2 separate regions of the Homo sapiens genome follow, and region 1 is linked to region 2. Evidence: promoter capture Hi-C in human tissues and cell types (Jung and others, 2019). All regions are on one chromosome and are shown on one strand. Each heading gives the region's core, a stretch centred on a gene start or on the middle of the fragment in contact. The rest is flanking DNA. Distances are from core to core; before and after follow the strand shown. Region 1 has its middle 7.1 kb from the start of LRCH1. Region 2 holds the start of RCBTB2 (RCC1 and BTB domain containing protein 2).

Region 1 (5,785 bases), core at 837-3,336, 2.0 Mb after region 2:
GTGGATTAGAAGCTGATTGTAATGAAAAGAATATTTTGGTAACTCAAAAATGGAAAACCAATCATATGTTCTCACTTATAAGTGGGAGCTAAGCTATGAGGATGCAAAAGGATAAGAATGATACAACAGCTGGTCATGGTGGTTCACGCCCATAATCCCAGCACATTGGGAGGCCGAAGTGGGCGGATCACTTGAGGTCAGGAGTTTGAGACCAGTCTGGCCAACATGGTGAGACCCCATCTCTACTAAAAATACAAAAATTAGCTGGGTGTGATGGCGTGCGCCTGGAGTCCCAGCTTCTGGGGAGGCTGAGGCATGAGAATCACTTGAACTGGGAAACGGAGGTTGCAGTGAGCTGAGATTGCACCACTGCACTCCAGCCTGGGCGACGGAGTGAGACTCTGTCTAAAAAAAGAAAAAATAGAATGATACATGGACTTTGGGGGCTTGGGGGAAAGAGTGGGAAGTGGTGAGAGAGAAAGGACTGCACATTAGGTCCAGTGTGCTCTGCTCAGGTGATGGGTGCACCAGAATCTCAGAGACCACCACTAAAGAACTTATTCAGGTAACCAAACACCACCTGTTCCCCAAAAACCTATTGAAATAAAAATAATAATAATAAAAGAATATTTTGGCTTAAGGAGGTTGAGATCTCCTTAAGTAAGTTGTAAGGAAAAAACATCAGTGAGCAGTAGCAAACCCTCTGGTTCCTGCCAGAGGTTTAGGAGGCTTCCAGGTGAATTCACTAGAAAATAAGGACCAAAAGGCATCAACTAATAAGACTTTAACTTATAAAGAAATAGATTTTTAGGGCGGGTGCGGTGGCTCACACCTGTAATCCCAGCACTTTGGGAGGCCAAGGCAGGCGGATTCACAAGGTCAGGAGATCGAGACCATCCTGGCCAACATGGTGAAACCCCGTCTCTACTAAAATAAAAAAAATTAGCCAGGCATGGTGGCATGTGCCTGTAGTCCCAGCTACTCGGGAGGCTGAGGCAGGGGAATCGCTTGAACCCGGGAGGCGGAAATTGCAGTGAGCCGAGATCGTGCCACTGCACTCCAGCCTGGTGACAAAGCAAGACTCCATCTCAAAAAAAAAGGAAAATCGATTTTTAAATACCTGACTTTAAAAAAAAAGCAAATGTAAATGTTAGATAACAGATAATATTAAAAAACAGCTTTATTGCAACTGGTTCACCTAAATGTTTCACCAGTTCATTATATTATGTTATTGGTTTATAACATAGGCATATTGTATTATTGGTTTGTAATATGATGAATATGTGAATTATTTAGAGGAACCAGTTATTTGTTTATTAATATAGTCATGTCTCTCTTAACAATGGGGATATATTCTGACAAGTACATTTCAGATGACTTTCTTGTTGTGTGAACATCATGGAGTATACTTACACAAACCTAGATGGTATATCCTATTATGCACCTGGGCTATATATGGTATAGCCTATTGCAGCTAGCCTGTACAGCATGTTACAATACTGAATACTATAGGCAATTGTAACACCGTGGTAAGTATGCATTTGGGTATCTAAACATATCTAAATATAGAAAAAGTACAGTAAAAATTTGGTATTATAATCTTATGGGACGATCATTCCATACAGTCTGTCACTGACCAAAACGTCATTGTGCATCGCATGACCGTAAATCATTTAACTTGCATGAATAAACTGAAGCAGCATTATCCAGTGTGTGTGTCTCTGAACCTTAGTTCTTTAGGCTGCTAACAGGCACTATGCATAAAACATTTTTTCGCCAAATAAGTTTGGGAGACAAAGGGTTAATTTAAAAGTTTAGAAGTTGTTTTACTAACACACTTCTCTGAATCCTTGATATGCTAATGTACATTGTGAACATGGAAGAAGGAAAGATGATTCACTGCAGTTTTTTCCTATATATTTGACCAATAAATCTCATCTTGCAAGACTGTTATCCATGGCTCACACTTTGAGAAACCCTGGACTGGGGTAGTCTCTCTCATGGATGTGTCATCTTTCGATCGCCAATTATATCGCAGTTCAACTGATCAAAATGTACCTCCAAATCAATATTTTAAGTACCTTTTCAGGCCTGTTGTTCATTAGGTGGACTTTAAAAGGACAAAAAAGTCTTCCTATTTGTAGTTAAGGTACTTTGCATCAAACTAAAGCAGTAATTTTCATGTTCCCCAGAGGCCGTTTTTAAGACTCTTGATATCATTACAGGGATATTTTCCGAACTTAAGGCTGTCATTAGGGTCTAGTCAGAGGCTCCCAGAGTGGTTGTTCTCTCCAGATTTAGCAGAAAATGCCCTCTGGCTACAATGGCGTTAAGCTTCCCATACCCAGATGCTATCACTATTCACATACACAGGGTTTAAACATTAGCTGTCTAACGCCCCAAGTTATTTCTCAAATCCTGCCAGTGCGACATCTAAAGAGAGGTCCTGCTAGACAGTGAAGCAATAGTGCAGAAGCAAAGGAACATGGTCATCTCATTTTATCTGTTGGCAAATCAGGTCAACACGTAGCACAACTCACCACAGTTCAAAAGTAAAACCAGTTAGGACTTTCTTCGATTTCTGGTTGCTGCAGAGAGAGTAAAGCCAGAATTAGCGTGGTTGGGATAGAGGACTGACCAGAAAGGAAGTCCACCCCAGTGAGGGTGAACAGTGTTGGAATACCTCATAATACCCACAGGGGAGTGTTACCTGCATGTCTGGTCACAGCCGCTGGAGTCCCAGATACTCTTCTAAGAGCAAGGATCATCTTAGACTATGCCAATTGAAGCAAATCATAAATCATTGCCTGGGGGGATGTATGGCACAGCCCACAATGGGAGAATGCCCAGGAGGTAAACAAGACCCTAGCCCAACTGGCTAGGATTCAAGACAGGGCCCCAGGCATGATGGTGAGCCATAGTCCAATCAGGAAGCAATTGTCTAGCACAGAAAGTCTCTGCAAGGAGGGACAAGAAACTGCTATCAGTGATGGCTTATGGGAAAGAAAACTGGTAGAATGGGATGAGAGAAAGACTTCTCTTTCTCTAGATATCTGTTTGTTCAGTTTTACCTTGTGCATCTATAATTAATCAATATAATAATAAATCAGTTAATTAATTACATTTTAAAAATACCAATTCAGAAGATTGAGTTTGCAGCAATAGTCATTGAAGTCATGGGTGAGTCCCAAGGAAGATGTAAATGAAATGATACTCTGCAGGATGAATTGGAATTGAAGAAGCAAGCCAGAATAGTGTTACCAGGTATAGGAGGTGTGACAAAGGGTGCTTGGACTAGGATGGAGCACAGGGCATGCATAAGGATGGATGGACAAGAAGTTTTTGAAAGGAAAAGACCACAGAGTCTGTATTCAACAAAGATTTGCTGAACCGCTTCTAACTCACAGGTAATGTTTGGTACTGGAGTTGCAACAGAGAGAGCTCTGTCCTTGTCCTGCAATAATAGCAAATGCAAGAGGCAAAGACTTGGGGGACACAGAAAATCCTCTGTCTTTGAGAGAGTAGTTCTAGGACAGTTTATCAACATCCAAACTGCAGAGGTAAGGAGAAGGCAAAGAAAGTAGAAAGAGTAGGTGTAAGTTACTTACTCCAAGCGTTTGGGGGCTAGAAGAAAGAAAAAGATTAATAGTTGACTAAAAAACAAATAAAGCAGAGAAAACTGGTTTAGTTTTTAAGATGGGGAAAATTTGAGAAGATTTGAAAGGAGAAAAAGAAAGAAAAGGCCCGTGAAGAAGGTAAGATTGGTGAGCCCAGGAGGAGAAAGTGGGATAAGGATGGACTGGACACTCACAGGTGAGACATCCAGGGAAAGAAAGGAGATGAGAATTCAGGCGCCTCCTCTGATCCTGGATTTAAAAGATCAGGAGACCTGAGTAAGAACACTAATATGCCAAAGCAACAGTTCAGACACTTTAGGGACTGTATGCTGATGGGCCAAGAGTCTGAATATATCCCATCTGCTAAGAGCAGAACAGGAGGTTGGCAGTGGGAAGGGAGATTTGTGAACAATTCAAACCAGAAACCACAGATCAGGTGCCCATTGTACTCAGAAATATTTACTCTTTAGTTTTCAGCCCTAATTAGCATATTAACCTGTCCCTGAATTATTGATGCTACCCACAAGTGCTGTTTTTCCCCTTGAATGTGCCTATTTGCTCATAATACTTCTATGGACTGCAAAACTAAATACTCCTCTAAAACATATAACTTGGTGTTTAAGATAGAAAAATTAACTGGCTCCTAATAAGGACCAGTTGTCTCCAAATACCTTTCTGTAGACAGGGACACACCAGAGTTCAGACACAGCCTGTCAGCTCCTCAGCCAGGGAGGCCTAAGGAATCTAGCCCAGCTTCCCCATACTACAGATTGGGAAACTGAAATAAATGCATGAAGGTGAACTACCCAATGTCATGCATCTGGCCAGTGCAAAATGTTGCTTAAAACTCAAGTGTCTATTTCCTATACAGTGTTTTTTCTTTGTCCCTGTTAGTGGGAATAGAAGTCACCAATTATGTCACTACCTGCCATGCTTGGGGATCTGCTTGTGTCCTTCCATCAGTGGTTCATTTGCTTTCACTCTGAGTGGCTTGTTAAAGGGCTGTGGTCTAGGGTGCTGGCGTACAGGGCTGACGCTAGGTAAGAACTGTAGTCAGAGCTGGTCCAAGGGACATGAGATGCTCTTGCTAGTTGTCTCTGGGACAGGACAAGCCTTGTACCCTGGTCAAGCTGAGAGGCAATATTGAGTACCCAAAGTCCAGGCATAATACAAGGCCGTGATTAGCTAGTCTACTTCCTGTAATGACCTTTCAGGATCCTTTCTGCCATAATCAGAAAGGCAGGGTTCCCTGAACCTCTAGATCAGTAGCTGCAAAATATTTTGGGGGAGTGACAAATCCTTTGAAGATTTTTGGCAAGAGATGTAGCCTCTCCCTAGAAAAATTAACACTATATCCTACACATACAGTTTTTTATACAATTTCAAAGGTATTAGAGACTCTCTGAACCCTCTAGGGCTGATCAAGCATCATCTAGTCAACTCTGACTCTGAACAAATCTTCCCCGTTGAAAAAACATCTTGAGAGAAGTAGTTAGTTTAGTTAGTTCCATGAGACTATCTCAGAAAATATTCTACCTTTTACTCACAGCAAGTTTTTTTCTCCTAAACCTCTGATATTTCCTTTGGGCACAGAAGGAATTGTGTGACGTTAGAATTGTCTTCCAGCACATGCGTAGAGGCTGGGGTTAGTTGAGGTGGTGCTGATGAAGAAAGGTCATCCATGCTGACCCCAGGCCCATCTTTAACACTTTAAACTCCCCTGTCAGCCTCCATGGCTACACACTACTTGCCTTGATCCTCACCCAGCCTCTTCTAATCGCCTCCCATGGCCAGGTTAGATTACTCATGTGTGCTCAGGCCCTTTCCAGTGTTTCTGCCATCTGGCTAATGATGGGACACCATATGTCAACAGCAGGGAATGGCCACCCACCTACGGGTTGGGGCACAGGCCTGCCCTCGTGAACAGCATGGCTGCCCAGTGTGTGGCTCACTTCCTAATGACACAAGGCATCCCTTGCATGAGTCTGCAAGTAGGACACTGAGGTTCCTTTTACTCTAGGCTGAGTTTGTGGCAAATGGCATAAATGTGTTTGGGTAACATTTAAGTCATCCATCACCTTCCATATACCTAGAATTTAGAGTAGCTCAAGTTGTTTCACACACAGGAATAAATATTATCTAATTAAACAACTCATTACTTCTTTAAG
Region 2 (5,733 bases), core at 2,806-5,305:
CTGTGCTCCCATGTTCACTGCAGCACTATTCACAATTGTTGAGATAAAGAATCATCCTTAGTGTCCATTCATGAATGAATGGTTACTTTAATTTCCTACCATTGCCCTATTCCCTCCATATAGCCTTTGTTTCAGCCTTACTGAGCAATTTATAATTCTCAAACACATCATATTTCTTATTCTACTTAGACTACTTCCCTTCCCTAACACTTCCATCCCTAACCTTTGTTCTCTTAGCTAACTCACACTGACTCAGCCTCCCAAGTGGCTGGGATTACAGGCACCCACCACCATGCCTGGCTAATTTTTGTATTTTTAGCAGAGACGGGGTTTCACCATGTTGGCCACGCTGATCAAGAACTCCTGACCTCAAGTGATCCGCCCATCTCCGCCTCCCAAAGTGCTGGAATTACAGGCATGAGCCATGGCACCCAGCCCACACTGAAAACTTAATGCTAAAGTAATCTGTTTTGGAAAGCCTTCTCTGATCACCTCTTGGTATTTTGTCATTCTTTCACTATTGCCACAGTAAGTGTATATGTGCCTATTATCATCTTTATCACTTTTATATTCTAACACCAATTATAATACCATGCTGACATGCACAATTCTATACAGCATGGTAATAGCATGCATCAGTAAAGGTGCAGTGTGACTGATACCTCTACAAAACACAGAGCTGGGCAGTGCACCAATTTAATGGAGTCTGAAGGAATTTAAGTTCTAGAAAACTAAGGTGCTACCCAAGGTCATTCACCTAATCAATGGCACTTAGGGCACCAAAGTGCAGGCTGCTTGCAGTCATTCATTCATGCATTCAATCTGTAACAAGCAGACTGATGTAGAAATTTACTGGTGCTAAATTTTTGTTCTGGAGACGCAAAGAGGAAAAAAAGAACATTTTCCTCTTCCCTGAAGCGTAATTAGACTTTCTGAATTTCCAAGAAAAAGTCAAAAGACGGCCCCATCCACCTTTTCTTGTGATTAGGGCCTTGGTGCCTGGATACCTGAAAAGAAAAAAGCAAGATGAATTCCTCTGCTTTTGGATAACTAAAGGAGGCTTAAAGATACCCCAAAAGCAGAAGTAATTAGGGGGTTTAAAAAGGGAAGAAAGGGAAGACTTTTATTGCAGCTAGATCCCCATTGTGGGCTGGAAAAGGACAAGGGCTCCTAGTTTCACAAGAGTAGTGTCATGAACTTGTTAGGACATAAGAAGTGGCAGGACTAAAACCATGTCTTGAAATAAAATTACTAAGGGAACGAGAAGATAGAGAAGTCCAAGAACCAAACTCTGGGTATGCCAATGGCTGGAGAAGTGGTGGATGAGCCAATGGAGCTGCCAGTGAGATGGACGAACCAAGAGACAGGGGCCACCTGAAGGCCAACAGAAGAAGATGAATGCTTCAAGATGGCAGCTGTAAGCAAATGCTTCTAATGCTGCTGATAGTTCAGGTGAGATAATGGAAAAGTAACCACTGATTTAGCAATTCTGAGGTCATTGGTGACTTTGCCAAGAGGAGTTTCAATGGAGGGGTAGGGGCAAAAGCCTGGCTGAAATAGATTCAAGAATGAATAGGAGGGCCAAGCATGATAGCTCACATCTATAATCTCGGCACTTTAGGAGGCTGAGGTGGATAGATCACCTGAGGTCAGGAGCTCTAGACCATTCTGGCCAACATGGCGAAACCCCATCTCTATTAAAAATTCAAAAATTAGCTGGGCATGGTGGCACACACCTGCCGTTCCAACTACTTGGGAGGCTTAGGCATGAGAATCACCTGAACCCGGGAGGTGGAGGTTGCAGTGAGCTGAGATTGCGCCACTGCACTCCAACCTGGGCAACAGAGCAAGATTCTATCTCAAAAAAAAAAAAAAAAAAGAGGATGAATAGGAGGAGGGGATGAGGATACAGTTAGTATAAGTGACTCTTTTAAGACATTTTGGAAGAGACCAGAGAACACATTGGTAGCTGATAGGGGACATATAATCAAGGAACTTTTTAAAAGATAGGCAAATGTTGCGCAATGTTAATATGCTTATGGGAATGATCCAAAAATTAATGATACAAAAATTAATAATGTAGGATTGAGAGGTGACAACTACCTGAGTGAAAACCTTGAGACTGTAAGGAAGACAGGATCTAATACAAAGGTGGAAGAGTTGAACTTAAATAAGAGCATGCACAGCTCATTCCCAGTAATGGGAAGGAATAGAGTGCACAGGTACAGATGTAGGTAAACTTGGGAGATGTGGTGATGGGAACTTTAACTCCTGAAATACTAACCTATACTCTCTCAGAGTCTAAATTTTTAGTCTACTGAATTCAGCAATACAGTGAAGTTTAGTAGACCAAATTATCCAAAAGTGTTGAAGGAAACTTATATGTGATGGAGACATTTTTACTTCTTACTTTTAATTTTGACCGCCCTGGGAAAAACTGTTGGACCCATATAAAATTAAAATCTTTAGTGAAACACATTCTTTTATAGGTATATTTTAAAGTTTTAACTTCTGAGATAATATCACAGTTTTCAAAACACTAAGACATGTTTTTATTGTTAGCTAATTGTCAGGCTTCAGCTGAAGCACACCGTAAGGCCTGCATGAACTTCAGCTGTCCATAATGCGTAAAAGACCAAGTGCGCAAGGCAAACAGATCTTGCCATGGTTGCTGATGAAAGAAACTTAATCTCTTGGGGCCTGAGTTGCCTTATCTGTAAAGTAAGGATAATCCTTGCCTTACAGGATTATTGTGAGCTCCAAATAAGATAAACCTCTTGGCACACAATAGGTGCTTAAAAAAAAAATGCCAGCTATCATCACTGAAGTGAGCTTTTTCTGAGAGCAAACCTGTTTAACTCATAAATTTCTTTCATTGATAAGATGTAACCAGTGGAGAAACTTGGGGCAGGCACACGATGCCTCTCTGCACTATCGCTGCAACTTCCTGTTAATGTATACTTACTTTTTCTTCCATTTAGAGCTCTACAAGAAATACCTGTGTACCATTTTGCGTGCCTCCTTCTGAGGCTCAGTGGGCTATGCTCAGAGAATAGAGATAAATGTCTGCCCTATGTAGCAGAAAGGCAGTTATACATTTTAGAATGATGTTTTTCCGAAGAAATGACAAAAGCCAGACGAAACAGACTGACACGGTCACTGTGGTTTGGAATGTTAGTTTTTCTCTTTGGCTTTACTACTTTTGGCTCTACACTGTAGAGGAACCAGTGTCCTCATGAAACAGCCAGTATAAAAGCAAGTAGCTTACTTCACAGGAATAGCTAATAACATTTAATTGTTGAGCATTTAACCAAAACCCACTCAGGTCAATTTAAGTGTAGTGCAGTGGAAGAAATTATTGCACACTGCAAAGTTGTGGTGCATTTTACTTAAATCTACAAAGGCCAACAGAAGTGCAGTGTAATATAATAAATTACTGCAAAATATAATCATAAGGGGAGAAGGTGGCTGTTTTCGAAGCCCTTGGCCCCAAGGTAACTGAGGTCATCCCCCTGAACCCCCCAGCACACATCCTCATTATTTCAGCATTTGTACTACAGGGGGCTACAAGACTTCCGCCCCACAGCAATGGGGTGAAAACGTGAAGTGATCGGAGCCCCCAGATAGAGGGGCCAGCAATAGAAGAAAAGCTGGGGCAGGCTGGAGGAGAGGGGCTGTGGAAAAGGTTGCTCTCAGCATCATACACGCCTTATCCTTCTAGGTCGGGTATCCACAAATTCCCAAAATTTGCGAGAACATAACCCTGGAGAAGGTGGGGGTGACCCACGGAGGAACTCCCTGGAAAAGCGGAGGCGGCCCCAATGGGAGACTCCCGGGGGTCAACTCCGAGGGGAGGGGGCGTCTGCGAGAAAGGGGAGGGGCGGCGGTGGGCAGCCTAGGGAGGAGAGGAGGGGCGAGACGCCGTCGCCAGCCCCCTCCTCTTGTCTGCGCTCCCTTCGTTTCCGTCTCGGCCGGGCACCCGAGCGCATCCCGCCGAGGCCGGGCCGTTTCAGGGGGAGGCGCCAACTCATCGCGGCGCCGGGCCCCTGACCGTGCAGTAACCGCTACCCAGGAGGCGGAGCGGACAAGGCTCCGGCCTGCGAGGAGGTAAGAGGGTGGAGGAGTGGTGTGGGAGGCCGAGGGGGATCGCGGCCGTGACGTGGGATGCTGTCAGGTACCACTGGGGCAGGCCACCCCTCCCCGCCCCTGCGGCCCGACCTCCCCGCCAGAGACAGCTGAGGGGCCCAGGGGACTAGAGCCGCGACCGTGCCACAGGCCTAGGCGTCGTCGCGCATGCGTAAAACTGCTGGCGGGAGTTAAGAGCTAGGTTCCGGGGCTACACCCAGCCCAGGCCGCAGGCAGAGGCGGCCCTGCGCATGCGCAATTCCGCTGGCGTGGGCCCGGTGCGCTGCTCGCGACTACATCCTGCCCAGGCCGCCGGCCCAGGCTGCGCTGCGCATGCGCGAGTCCTCTGGTAGGGGTCGCGTTTGGCGTCGTTCCAGGGTGATCATCTGCTCGGAGGCCGCTCTCATCCTAAGCTCCCACGTCTGGTGTGGCTGGGGGGGCGTCACAGGTCCCGAGGGAGCGTCCTGCCTGAAGTTTCTCCCTCCTAACCCACTCGCTGCACTGCATATGTTGCCGATGTTTTCATTTCTGTGGCCTCGACCCCTAGGCTCCCGTCCCATAAATCTAGTACCCCAGGTCCCGGGCACCGGCCCGGCTCACTAACTCAGTGGCAGTATATGCTTTCGACATTTGGTCCTGATGTCCAGGAATAGCGCGAAAAGTTTGACTTTGTTAGGCGAAGCCGTTTTGGAACTGCGGAGGGATGGGAAGAAATCGCCGAGCGTCTTAAGCCGCAACATAGTGCTCTGCTCAGCCCTGGAAATAGAGGTTTTCAGACATTGAAAACTTTCCAAGTGCTCCGTCTTGGCGGAGAAAGAACTGAGTTGGAAGGCTAATTTAGAATGAACTTTTTGCTTTTGTTCTTTGCAAAAATTACATAAAATGTTGCAACAGTTCGAGACCAGGACTATAACAAAACGCATTTCATGGAGCTACTTTGTACCGCGCTTGGCGACTTACCTTGTCAGAGCTGAATAAAAGTGGTTGAGTTCACAAACAGTGCTCTGGATCGTTGCTCTTTCCCCCAGACACTGTTTAACGTTTATTGAGCCTCCTGGCTTTGCACCTTCCTAGTATTGCGTTCCTGCTGGGTTTTACACCTTACTAGACAGTGGGTCTTAGTTAAGTCAGTTTCGTGACTCCTGGGGCTACTGTGAAGAGTTTCTAACAATGTCATTACTCTGTGCTTTGTAATCTTATATGATGTGCTGATACAGATATTTGGGGGCTGGAATAGAAGAGCCACTTAGGCTCAGAGAATGAGTATTCTAGGTGAAACGTAATCTCTTTATTTCCTGCTAGACAGTACATGCGTGTTATTAAGCAGCAGGTAAAAGCAACAAGAATGATACGTTCTTGCATACCCCACTTCCACCACTCAGGCCTTATTGCTCTTGCTGGGCTCGCCAAGCGGACCCTCATCCCAGGGCGTCTGCGTTTGGTATTTCCAGTATGCTCAATGCTCACTTTCCCACTCTTCGCAAATCTGCATGGCACAGAACTTTATTTAAGTCTTGAAACAATTGCCATCATTTCAGAGAGGTGACTACCTCACCTAAAATGTCTGGCTCTCCAAACTCTTGTACTGCTGGTTCGGCTTTGTAGCAC

What was found. Contacts are between HindIII fragments. The study calls those that stand out against the background at their distance.
Region 1: a fragment that was not itself captured here is called in contact with the fragment with the promoter of RCBTB2 in region 2 in 1 of the 25 tissues and cell types used here (lymphoblastoid cells).

The regions. Positions count from the first base shown.
Region 1 is chr13:46,543,201-46,548,985 of GRCh38, reverse strand. No RefSeq gene overlaps it. Among named protein-coding and RNA genes, the nearest start is that of LRCH1, 7.1 kb to the left of the region's middle. The HindIII fragment of the contact is 4,868 bases long and covers 1-4,520 here.
Region 2 is chr13:48,531,402-48,537,134 of GRCh38, reverse strand. It overlaps RCBTB2 (RCC1 and BTB domain containing protein 2), which reads left to right and starts at 4,055. Exons shown (of 15, transcript NM_001268.4): 1 at 4,055-4,107. It overlaps LOC124903174 (a long non-coding RNA gene), which reads right to left. Exons shown (of 2, transcript XR_007063795.1): 1 at 5,086-5,733. RefSeq lists silencers at 3,840-3,889, 4,000-4,399 and enhancers at 4,440-4,679, 5,570-5,733. The HindIII fragment of the contact is 15,092 bases long and covers 1-5,733 here.